3 separate regions of the Homo sapiens genome follow, and all the other regions are linked to region 1. The links are contacts of gene promoters, found by promoter capture Hi-C in human tissues and cell types (Jung and others, 2019). All regions are on one chromosome and are shown on one strand. Each heading gives the region's core, a stretch centred on a gene start or on the middle of the fragment in contact. The rest is flanking DNA. Distances are from core to core; before and after follow the strand shown. Region 1 holds the start of TALDO1 (transaldolase 1). Region 2 holds the start of ANO9 (anoctamin 9). Region 3 holds the start of MUC6 (mucin 6, oligomeric mucus/gel-forming (gene/pseudogene)).

Evidence for each region. Contacts are between HindIII fragments. The study calls those that stand out against the background at their distance.
Region 2: a contact is called between the fragment with the promoter of ANO9 here and the fragment with the promoter of TALDO1 in region 1, in 4 of the 25 tissues and cell types used here (H1 embryonic stem cells, dorsolateral prefrontal cortex, small bowel and 1 more).
Region 3: the fragment with the promoter of MUC6 here is called in contact with the fragment with the promoter of TALDO1 in region 1 in 2 of the 25 tissues and cell types used here (liver and pancreas).

What each region holds. Positions count from the first base shown.
Region 1 is chr11:745,177-749,079 of GRCh38, forward strand. It overlaps TALDO1 (transaldolase 1), which reads left to right and starts at 2,288. Exons shown (of 8, transcript NM_006755.2): 1 at 2,288-2,402. The coding sequence starts at 2,306. LOC105376509 (a long non-coding RNA gene) reads left to right here. Exons shown (of 3, transcript XR_930962.3): 3 at 1,573-1,786. RefSeq lists enhancers at 1,272-1,920, 1,559-1,618, 1,921-2,569 and silencers at 1,749-2,348, 2,409-2,698, 2,799-2,888. The HindIII fragment of the contact is 22,782 bases long and covers 1-3,903 here.
Region 2 is chr11:440,271-444,173 of GRCh38, forward strand. ANO9 (anoctamin 9) reads right to left here and starts at 1,741. Exons shown (of 23, transcript NM_001012302.3): 1 at 1,651-1,741. The coding sequence starts at 1,656. LOC105376506 (a long non-coding RNA gene) reads left to right here. Exons shown (of 5, transcript XR_007062542.1): 5 at 215-403. It also overlaps the pseudogene RN7SL838P. RefSeq lists silencers at 1,515-1,594, 1,639-1,933 and enhancers at 1,765-2,034, 2,342-3,139. The HindIII fragment of the contact is 11,307 bases long and covers 1-3,903 here.
Region 3 is chr11:1,035,059-1,038,961 of GRCh38, forward strand. MUC6 (mucin 6, oligomeric mucus/gel-forming (gene/pseudogene)) reads right to left here and starts at 1,660. Exons shown (of 33, transcript NM_005961.3): 1 at 1,546-1,660. The coding sequence starts at 1,597. The HindIII fragment of the contact is 28,311 bases long and covers 1-3,903 here.

The DNA of each region.
Region 1 (3,903 bases), core at 1,038-3,537:
TCCCAGCTACTCGGGAGGCTGAGGCAGGAGAATCGCTTGAACCTGGGAGGCGGAGGATGCGGTGAGCTGAGATCGCGCCATTGCACTCCAGCCTGGGCAACAAGAGTAAATCTCCATCTCACCAGAAAAAAAAAAAAATTTGTCACTTTGGAGCAAGCAAAGACTCCTTAGAGAAGATACCAAAAAAGAGGAGTAAATATAAAATTAAAACTTGATAAATTGAACTTAATCAAAATAAAAAGCTAACGTTCATTAAAGACACTATTAAAATGAAAAGGGAACACATGCTGAGAGGAAGTATTGAAACCACCTTTGCAAAATTATAACTAAGGAAATTATGACAGTGAAAGATAACAGACTTAACCAATTCCATCTTGTTTCTAACCTTCAAACGGTCCTTGTCCATTACTGGCCATAGGCCAAACAAGTCTTGGGAAGGAATTTAATTTATAGTTTAAATAATAGCCCTTCCCCAAAACTAGACTGTTCTTGTAAAATGAATGAAAGGCCACCAGCCACCAAGTTAGAATGAGAGGGGCTGGAAGTCTAAATATTATCAGCCATTATTCTGGAGGTCATAAGATAAGATTTGCAACTTCCCCAAGATATCAACACTACTGTGAACCTAGGGTTGGCCTTTTTTTTTTTTTTAAATGGAGTCTCGTTCTGTAGCCCAGGTTAGTGTACAGAGGGACAATCTCGGCTCACTGCAACCTCCACCTCCCAGGTTCAAGCCATTCTCCTGCCTCAGCCTCCCAAGTAGCTGGGATTACAGCCATGTGCCACCACGCCTGGCTAATTTTGTATTTTTAGTAGAGACGGGGTTTTGCATGTTGGCCACGCTGGTCTCCAACTCCTGACCTCAAGTGATCGCCTGCTTTGGCCTTTCAATGTGCTGGGATTCCAGGCCTGAGCCACCGCGTCAGCCTAGGATTTGCCTTTTAAGAAGTCTTTTCCGCCGGGCGCGGTGGCTCACGCCTGGAATCCCAGCACTTTGGGAGACTGAGGTGGGCGGATCACGAGGTCAGGAGATCGAGACCATGCTGGCCAACATGATGAAACCCCGTCTGTACTAAAAATACAAAAATTAGCCGGGCGTGGTGGTGAGCGCCTGTAATTCCAGCTACTCGGGAGGCTGAGGCAGGAAAATCGCTCGAACCCGGGAGGCGGAGGTTGTAGTTAGCCAAGATCGCGCCACTGCACTCCAGCCTGGGCAACAAGGGCGAGATTCCGTCTCAAAAAAAAAAAAAAGTCTTTTCAGGTTTTTGCATTTCTGACAACCGGATGGCCCCACCTGGACCTGCCAACCAGTTGTGTGGCCTCTACCCAGGGACTGACTCAGCATAAGCGGACAGCTTCGACTCCCTGTGATTTCATCCCTAGCTGACCAGTCAGCACTTCTGACTCACTGGCCCCCTACCCACCAAATTATTCTTAAATACTGGGATCCCCGAGTTTTGGGGAGACTGATTTGAGGAATAAAACTCTGGTCTCCCGAACAATCGGCTCTGTGTGAATTATGCTTTCTCTATTGCAATTCCCCTGTCTTGACAATAGACTCTGTCCCGGCAGCTGGCAAGGCGAACCCATGGGGCGGTTACAGTGTCTGCAACGCAGACACAAGCGACAGAGACTTGATCAGAATATACAAGGAACTCTGCAAGTCAGCGATGGTAAGAAGCAGGGCAGCTGGGCCTCCTACGCCTGCCTCGCCGTTCGGTCCCCCGGACACCTCTGGGCTTAGGACTCAGGGGAACAGATTCCCAGAAGCAGGTTCCCCGCCGCGTCCGGCGCCCGGGCTCTGCAGCCGCCCCCTGCTCTGCCTCCTGCACCCGCAGGGCGTCCCCCGCCGCTCCCTCCCCTGCTTCCTGCAGCGGCCCCCGACCCCAGTCCTGGCCCCACCATGGATCCTGCATCGCCGGGTTCGGCCCTGGCGGGTTCAGCCCCGCAGAGTCGGCACCCGGGCCAGGTCCATCTCCTCCAGCCCTCCCGGTGCGTCCCGCGGGGCAGGAAGGAGGCGAGGCCCAGCCGCCCCGTGTCGTGCAGGTGTTTTCCCGGGCCCGTCCGCGGCGGCTGCTGAGGACCTGGGGAGACCCAGCCTGTAGGATCCGCAGCTGCGGTGCGCGGCCGGCAGTGGCGCTCGGGCTTCGTCCCCGGGGGCGGGGCTTCGTCCAGGCGCGCAGGGACCAGCGGGCCTCGCCCTCCCGCGCCGCTTTCCGATTGGCAGCCGCCCGCGGGGCATTGTGGGCCGTCCGCGCGCCCGTCCCGTCGCCGCCGCCGCCGCCGCAGACCCCTCGGTCTTGCTATGTCGAGCTCACCCGTGAAGCGTCAGAGGATGGAGTCCGCGCTGGACCAGCTCAAGCAGTTCACCACCGTGGTGGCCGACACGGGCGACTTCCACGGTGAGGACGGCGCGGAGCCCGGGCGCGGCGCAAGCGCCCTCCAGAGGCCCCGGCGCCCCGATTTCCCCGGGTCTCCCGTTCCGGGACGCGGACCGGGTGGCGGTGCCCCGGGCGGCTCGTTCCGGGAGGAATGAGCGCAGGTGCCGGATGTTGGGGCCAGGGACAGCCGTGAGGGGAGCGGGGCCCGGGTCGGCCGTGAGAGGCGCAGGGCCAGCGGCGACCGTGAGGGGAACGGGGCCCGGGTCGGCCGTGAGGGAGCAGGGCCGGGGGCAGCCGTGAGGAGCTGGGGTCAGCCGTGAGGGGCTCGGTGCTGGGGTCAGCGGTGCGGGCGGTACTGACGGGTCCTTGCGAGCCGTGGGGCACGAAGCCGGAGCCCCAGCCTCGCCCTCCGCCCAGGGTGGGGTCGGCTGCGCCCTCAGACCCCGCACCCGGGACGGGCTGTGGGCAGCCCGCGGGAGCCCCTCTGTGCACCTTCATGGGTCGAGGCAGCTTTCAGAGCCTTTGAGTTCAGGAGAGATTCAGGGTAGAGCTTCGAGCTGACTTCCACGTGGCCAGTTTGTGGTCAGCGAGATGCAATTTTGTTGGGCTGATGTCTGCAGAGCGGGGACATCAGCTAGCTCTGACCAGAAGCTGCCAGTGCTGCCATCGCCCTTGAGCCCTGCGGTGCCCAGTGGGACAACTCCGTGGGCGGCAGGTGCCCGGCCTGCTGGACAGCCACCGCCAGACGCACCGGGTGGGTAAAAGCCGGTGCCCATGAAAGCACAGGGTTGGTACACTGTTAAATACTGGATTTTCCTGGGCTTGAGTTGTTTACATTGGAGAGAACTTGGAAAATACAAAGAAGGATTATTTATTAATACTTAGCTCTTCTGTCCTCTGCAGTGCAGAGTAGACGAGCCTTGTGTCTATGTTTTGTTGAGAACAAGTAATATTTTTTAAGAAAATCATGAAACGCTTCATGGATGAATGCTGCGAGCACCTAATACGGAAGTGACTTCCTCTCTTTTCTGCTTTCTCATGGTGACTTGAGAAACAGGCTTTAATTCCTCTTTGGTAACTGAGTAAGGGCATTGTTTATCTAGCAGAGCCTAGAGAGTGAATTGGCATGTTTGGCTGCTTAACCATAAAATATGGGGATTCAGTGACTGGCTTGGGGTGCCACAGTCTGCTCCGGACCCCTCTTTGGGAGATCCAAAGCTAGAGCTGTGAATCCCTCACACACACAGCCCCCCCGTTGTAGTCCAGACCTCTCTTCATAAGAAAGAAAGCTCCAGAAAAGGGGCTACACATTTTTCTGCTGCTCAGTTTTTTCCCTTCTTAGCACTGAGAATAATTTGCAGTTTGCCTGGTGGACAGAGCGCTCATCTGTATTGTTCCTTACTGGCCCTCACCAGTTAGGGCAGAGCTGGTGCGGAGTGTCAGGTCCATTACACTTGGCAGTGCAGGGCCAATAAAGATGGATTTTCCTAAACCCACACCCACAGGAGGGCTGGGGAGTCCT
Region 2 (3,903 bases), core at 491-2,990, 310 kb before region 1:
GGGAGCTGCCAGAAGGGGAGGCTGGAGGTTGGCAGAGGCCAATCAGGGGAGGCTGCTAGGCTTCTTGGCCAAATGGAGAGCTTGGACTTCAGCAGGGGGCAGTGGGGAGCCATGGAAGGGGTTAGAGCAGAGGAAAGGCACGCCCAGATCCAGCCTGGAGCTGGGACTAGCAAGTCCTCCCCATGTCTGCAACTGTCCTTTTTGATCACCACAGGAGTTTTGACCTGCTCCGTTTCCGACCTGGACCGGTTCACCCCTCCTTAGGCAACTTGGTGGTCCCCTGCTCCTGGGAGGTCACCATACTGATGTGCGGACAGCCAGTCAGCCTAACACACTACAGCCCAGAACTCCCAGGCTCGAGCAACCCTCCTGCCTCAGCCTCCGGAGTAGCTGGGACCGCAGGCTCATGCCACCACGCCCGGGTTCCAGCAGTCCTCCTGCCTCAGCCTCCCGAGTAGCTGGGAGCGCAGGCACGCGCCACCACGCCCGGGTTCGAGCAGTCCTCCTGCCTCAGCCTCCTGAGTAGCTGAGACTGCAGGTGCATGCCACGACGCCCGGGTTCAAGCAATCCTCTTGCCTCAGCTTCCGGAGTAGCCGGGACCACAGGCATGCGCCACCAGGCCCGGCTGCAACTGTCTTTTTTGAAGGACTGATGCTCTCACTTCCAACAAACCAGGTGCTGCTTCTCCCAACCCAACCCCTGGCCAGCCCCAAGTCTCTCCTCTAACCCCCAGCATGGGAGGAAGGGGCTGGCAGAGGGGACCCTGAGCTCAGGCTAAGGGGCATCAGGTGCTGGGCTGAGCAGCCAGGGTGTCAGACCTGGATGTGGAGGGCCGAGGAGAGCCCTGGGCGGAGATGGAGCAAGAGGCCGCCGGCGCAGCCCACACGTGGAGGCCCTGGCAGGCCGAGAGGGAGGCTGGTTTCACTCCACACCTCACCACTGCCTCCTCCCTGGGCCGACCAGGTGCTGACCTGCCCAGGTGTTGGCCCTGGCCCCAGGTGACCTCTTCACTGGCAGAGGGGAGAAAGGATGTCTTTCTACGTGTTCACCTGCACTCCCTCCCCCAGAATCGGAATCCAGCAGCAGCAGTCAGCGCCCACCCCCAGAATCGGAATCCAGCAGCAGCAGTCGGCCCCCACCTGTGCTGGGCGGGGTCCTTGGGGAGCAGAGAGCCCACAGCCCGCCGGCCACTCTGCAGCTCCCAACCCTGGGGCAGCCTGCCTGGTGCCCACAGCCCGCTCCCCCTTAGGGGCCAGCTGCAAGGCAAAGCTGCCAGGTCTGGGGTCCTCAGCAGCAGCCCCCGCCTCGGTGGGCAGGCCCTCTCCATCTCGTGTTCAGGACTCTGGTAGAGGTTCCTGGCCCCACACACTAGCTGAGAGCCCAGCCCTGGTGCCCTCAGAATCCCGGGCTGGAGGGAGGAACGCCGCCCGCCTCCAGCACTTCCAACCCCCAGCGTGCCCCAGGAGTCCAGGAGGCAGCTTAGCTGAGCCGGGCGGTCACCCTCGCCTGACCGGGCAGCCTGCAGGGACCCCCCCCACACACACAGGCGCCTTCCAGGTGGGGCTGGCGGGGGGCTGGGGCCGGGGGCCCCAGGTGTGGGCGTGGCTGGGGGCCTTGAAGGTGTGGACCCTTTTGAGCGCAGGACTCACCTGCATGCTGGCTGTGGCCGGAGTTCCAGCTGGGGTTTGGCGGCCAGGAGAGTGGCTGCCAGCGGCGGGTGCTCCTACCTGACTTCCGCGTGGGGCTCGCCCCTCCCTCCTCCTCCTCCAGCGTCCTGCAGCTGCCGCGCCTGGGTGTAGTCGGGGCGGAGCCAGCATCCAGGCCAGGAGAGTACCCCAGCCCCTGGAGCCTGGGACACCTTCCTGGAGCCCAGATGGCGGGTCAGGGGCCAGAGGGGAATTCCTAGGCTGGAGTTCCCGGGAAGGGGGTTTCCACTGTGAGATGGGTCTCATGACACCTGGTCCTAGGGGGAAGCAGGATGGCACAGAGCCCCTGACAGAGCCAGCACCAACGCCCCCACTTGCCTTGCCTCTCTCACCCCCGCTCACACATCCCCATGTTCCCTCCAAAAGCATCCCACCCCAGGCCATGCCCCCCACCCCGGGCCACGGCCCCCCACCCCGGGCCACGGCCTCCCCCACCCCGGGCCACGGCCTCCCCCACCCCGGGCCACGGCCCCCCACCCCGGGCCACGGCCCCCCACCCCACAGGTCCAGTGCTGATTCCCTTAGAGGAGAAACTGGGGCAAGGAGGACTGACGACGAGACAGACTCCCAAAGAAACTGTCTGCTCCTACCCAAGCCCCTGCTTTCTGGGCCCCACTGGGGAATCCTTGGAGTCCTGGGGACACGTGGCTGGCCCCAGGCTGTGTAGACAACGGAGGAGGAGCCCTCCACCCCGCATCCCCAGTCCCTGAGCACGTTCTGTGCAGCCTGGGCTGAGGGCGGCAGCTGGGCAGGCTCTGGGTGTCCTGAGAGTGACCGTCCAGTGGAGTGCCCTGAGGAGGGAAGGGCTGCGGGGAGTGGGGGCCCAGGCCGTGGGCTGGCACACATTATCTGCAGCGTGTGTGGCGAGGAGTCTGCTTCTGAAAGCTGCTGCAAAGCTGGGGAGGCAGGGCCAGAGCTCCGCAGGCAGACGCTGTCACACGGAACGGCTCCAGGCCCACTGGGGCCAGAGCACCCCCCGGCAAGCCCAGCAGCCCTCTGCTGTGGTCCAGGCCCAGGGCCAACAGTCGGCTCTGGTTTCCCCAAGGGGTAACATGGTCCCACCCATGTTTCTCCTTGGGGGACCTCCTGGCAGGCTGGGATGGCAGCAGAGACCACAGCTTTGCCACTTTGGCAAAGACAAGCGAGTGAAGTGGTGGCCGAGGACCTGTGAGCTCAGATGGGGCAAATCCAAATGGAACACATTCAGATCTGTGTGCAAAATGGTGGTGGCTTAAACAAGCTGTGTATTTCTCCTATAAGTGAAATCTGGAGTTGGCCGGGCGCAGTGGCTCATGCCTGTAATCCCGGCGCTTTGGCAGGCCGAGGCGGGTGGATCACCTGAGGTCAGGAGTTCGAGACCAGCTTGCCCAACATGGTGAGACCCCGTCTCTACTAAAAATACAAAAATTAGCCAGGTATGGTGGTGCACGCCTGTAATCCCAGCTACTCGGGAGGCTGAGGCAGGAGAATCGCTTGAACCTGGGAGGCAGAGGTTGCAGTGAGCCAAGATCACACCACTGCACTCCAGCCTGGGTGACAGAGTAAGACTCTGTCTTTAAAACAAAGCAAAACAAAAATCTGGAGTTGGCTAGTCCTGGACTAGTATGGCCGAACTATAGTCATCAGAGACCCAGAATGCCTTCAGCTTGTTGCTCTGCCACCTTAAATACATGGTCCCAGCACCTGGTCCAAAATGACTGCTCAAGCTCCAGTCATCACATCCACGTTCCAGCCAGTGGGAAGAGGAAAGGGCGAAGGAGGGAACCTCACCCTTCACATGGTTAGTCACGTGACCACACTCTATGGCAAGGAAGCCTGGGGCATGTGAGCTCTTTTCCCATGGAAGAAAGCAGGGTAAGCGGGAGAGGGAACATCCGGCAGTCTCACCAGGGGGTCACAGCTGCCAAGTTAGATCTAGTTCAGAAACAGAATGTGCAAGGCTTGTTGAGTATGGGAGGAACTCACACGCAAGATCCACGTTCCCAGCCCCTGCACCGTCCGTGACGGGTGTCGCTCCCCAGTCCCCAGCTCAGCCCGCTCAGGGGTCTCTGTGCTCATGTTTTCACACTGTGTTAAAACAATCTTCGGCTGGGTGCGGTGGCTCATGCCTGTAATCCCAGAGCTTTGGGAGGCAGAGGTGGGTGGATCACGAGGTGAGGAGTTCAAGACCAGCCTGGCCAAGATGGTGAAACCCCA
Region 3 (3,903 bases), core at 410-2,909, 290 kb after region 1:
GGTGCGCACTGTTCCTTCTGCACGCTTGGCGGCCGCCCACCCCTGCCTCCCGGCCCACCGCGGCCCAGGCCTGCAGCCCGTCTGTCCGACCCCACACTCTGCTGGCTGAGGCCCCTCCCATGTTGGCAGAGATGGCGCTCAGAGATTATTTGCTGGGGTGACGGGTGGACACCCCCACTTGGCCCTCCACCCTCTGCACTGCCCACAGCCCAGACCTCCAGCCTCTCTGGGCCTCACCACACCTCCCTCCCTGGCTCCAGGGTGGTGGCCCGAGGGACTAGGGGTCGCACTCTGCTGCAAGTTTAGCCCCACTTCCTGGCACTTGTCCCCAAGCTGTGCCAGGTGTGCAGGTAGGGGCTGGGGTCCCAAGCAGAGGGCACCGCTGGGAGGGCTCAGAGACCCCCACATCTCCCACGGTTGAAGGGTGGTGCCCGGCGTGGTAGGGAGCGGGCTCAGAGACCCCCATATCTCCTACAGTTGAAGGGTGGTGCCCGGCGTGGTGGGGAGCGAGCTCAGAGACCCCCACATCTCCCACGGTTGAAGGGTGGTGCCCGGCGTGGTGGGGAAGGGGCTTCAAAGGAGAGAAGGGGTGGGGTGGGCTTGGGTCGCCCTACAGTGGGACACCCCTGGGGGGGTCCCACTGTGCTCTGAGCCCGAGGCGCCCAGGTTGGCAGCAGCTCCGAGGGCGAGCTCTGTCACGCCAGCGTCCACCCCAGGGGGCTCCCGGCTGTGGAGGAGGGTCGGGCCAGCTTGGAGAGGAAGGAGGAGCACGGAACACAGAGGCCCTTGGGCTGGTGCCTTGGTCGGCAAGAGGGGTCTCCCCAGGTCTCAGGCTGCGGCCACAGAGGGACCCCTTGGGGCTGGCTCCTTCTGGGGGCCTGGGGAGGGACTGATGGTCACCTGCAGCAGCCGCAGGGCAGGCGGTTGGCAGAGGATCCAGGATGTCAGTCCCTCCTGGATCCTGCCCGAGCTGGGTAGGGGAGCGCGGGGGAGAGGGCAGGCTGCCTGCGGCGGTTCTGAGCCCAGGATGGCCGTACACCTTCCCCCCTCTTCCCCCCACGGCGGCCACACCAGGGGAGGCAGCGTCCCCCACTTCTGTAGACTAGGAAACGAGGCCCAGGGCCCAGCAGAGACTGTGCCTCTGTCCCCCACACTCCAGAGACCTCTCAGGACTCAGGACCCCACTCGGGGAGGGAGAGCGCCAGGGCTGGGCACCAGCACACCTGCCCACTGTTCCCGCGGGAGTGCCGGACCCCACTCCAGCTGAGCGTCCTCCCCCGCTGGCTGCTGTGCCAGCTCACAGGAGGGCGTCCCTGCCCAGGCCCCATGGGGTCCCTGACCCCAATTGGCAGAGCCCAGCACCGCGGCTGCTGGGGGGACCCGGGCCTGGCAGCGGGGGCTGGTCACGGAGCCGAGCTGGGGCCTCCCGTCCATCAGCGTCCATGTGGGCCAGCCGAGTTGTCGAGGCGAGAAGGCCCAGAGACCCCCGCACACAGGGCCCCTCTGAGGGCACCGCAGTGTCTGGCGCCCCTCGACCTCACTCACCAGCGCTGAGCAGGGCTCCGCAGCAGGACAGCAGCAGCCACCGCTGGACCATGGTGCACAGTGGAGAGGAGCTCGCGCTGGGCCCGGCAGGCCTGCTGCTGCCATCCATGCGGCTCCAACGGCCGGTCCTGGGTGCCTTATATAGGCTGGCGGGCCCTCCCCCGCCGCACCTGCCTGCGCCCCGCGGTCCAGCCCCTTAATCACCACTGCCGGCGGGCGCCGCGGTGGCCAAACAGGATCTGGGCCTGCTTTATCAGGACTCGGCTTTCTTTGGAAAATCCTGCAGGCAGCGGCCCCATTATCACCCATTCCCAGCGGGGGGCTGACGCACGCACGCCCCCAAAGGTCCTGCAAACACCCCCTGCATGGGGGCCATCCTGGCCCGGGCCCTCCCCGCTGCTGGGTCAACGTGGCACTGTCAGCCACACGCCTGGTGGCCGGGATGGACCTGTTGGGGGAGGTCGGGGGCCCTGGGGCACCTGCTCTGCCCCTTCCGGGGAGCCCAGTGCTGACCCAGCTTGGGGGGAACCCTGCTGCACCTGAATCCCAGGACCCCCTGAGGGGCACTGGGCCCACCCCTCACCCTGAATCCCAGCACCCCCTGAAGGGCCCTGGGCCCACCCCTGAGTTCCCTGCCCAACAGGAAAGATCACCCAGCGGGAGGGACCTTGCCAGGGGGTGTTGGGGAGCAGGGGCTCCGCCGTCTGGGACAGGCAGCGGCCTTGGGGCTTAGACAGGCTGCCCTGGAGGCCTGAGGAGCTACCGTGTCTCTGCAGCCCGCCAGGTCCCAGGCTTGCTCCTGAAGACCCCTCCACAGCTGTTTTCTTCCCCCTTCGAGCGCTGTTGGCAGCCATCTTGAGGACAGGAACTCGGGGGCTGCTCGTCTGCTGGGGCATCTCTGCGGGGCTGTGGGGTCGCCGGTATGCTCCTGACCCCTTCAGGCAGAGGGGCAGGGACTGGGATGACCAGGGGGCCTTGCCTGTGGAGGCACGTGCCACGTCTGAGGGGCCGGGGACAGGGCAAGGTCTGGTGACATCGGGGTGGTGCCGGTGGCTGGCGGGGGGGAGGGAGGTGGAGGTCTGAGTGGTCACCAGGATTGCCCCAGCTTCGTTTGGCAGCCCAGGGACCCCTCCCAAAGGGGATTTTGGTCCCCGACTCCGACAGGAGCCCTCGCTGGCCTCGGGGCTGCTCCCACCACACGTCAGCATCCCGGCCTGAGCCAGGAGGGACTCCGAGGCCGCCTGGTCTCCCTGGGCCGGGCTCCCCACATGGGGCTGCACCCCCATCCCACAGGTGAGCTGAGCCTGCTGGCTGGGACCCGGGCCTGCCACCTCTGTCCCACCTGTGCCCACACGCCCGGGAGCTGCCCCACCTGCCCCCGGAAGAGGCCCCAGGGCCACGCGTGCCATACACAGTAGGTGTCGCGTGTTTCACTTAAATCAGCTTCAGTTTTGTGGAACGTTGCTTGAAGTTACAATAAGTTGCTTTTGTAGGAAATTGCAGTACGTGTGCTGCCCCCCACCAGGAGCCCCACACCAGGCATTCTGGGTGTTCTACTCTCATCTGTTCTTCTTTTTAATTTTTCGGTTTTGTAGGGACGAGGTCTCACTTTGTTGTCCAGGCTGGCCTTGAACTCCCGGACTCAAGAGATCCTCCTGCCTCAGCCTCCCAGAGTGCTGAGATGACAGGCGTGAGCCACCGTGTCCAGCCTTGGCTGTCCCTTCTTAACACGCTCAGTGGTCCCTGTGGTTCAGGTGAGAAGCTGAGGCACAGGAGTGAGGCCCTTGCCCTGTCATGCTGAGAGGTTGGATGGACGCAGGGCTCACAGCTGGCCCTCGTTCTGAGCTGGGGCCTCTCAGCCCGGGCTCGAGGTGGGGACGATGAGGGGCAGAGATCTTAGGGCCTCCTTCCCTGGGTGGGTCACTGCACCAGGGCAGCTGGTGCCAAAAGGGACCTCATGGGCAGGTGTCATGGCTGGGAGCCCTGTGGCCATGTCAGCCCGGCGGTTGTGCTTGTCTGACCACCTGTCTGGGCTTGTGAGAACCGAGCTCAGGTTCTCAGGAGGGATCCTATGAAGCTTTGAATGTAGGGGCAGGGGTGGGTTGGGGGTGAGAGCCAGTGGACACTGGTTCCCCGGCCAGGCCTGTAGGGCTTCGGGTCCTGGCCACTGAGGCTTCCATTTCCCAGCTGTAAAGTGGCAGAGACCCCTGACCTTGAAGGTTATGGCTGTGGCGTTCAGCATGTGAGTCCCCAGCGTCCTCTAGAATTGGGGGATCCCTGCAACTTGCACAGGTGTGGGGCGGGTGGGGGCTGGATACCACCAGCCTGCAATGGGGCTGCCCACTGGGCCTGTGGTGA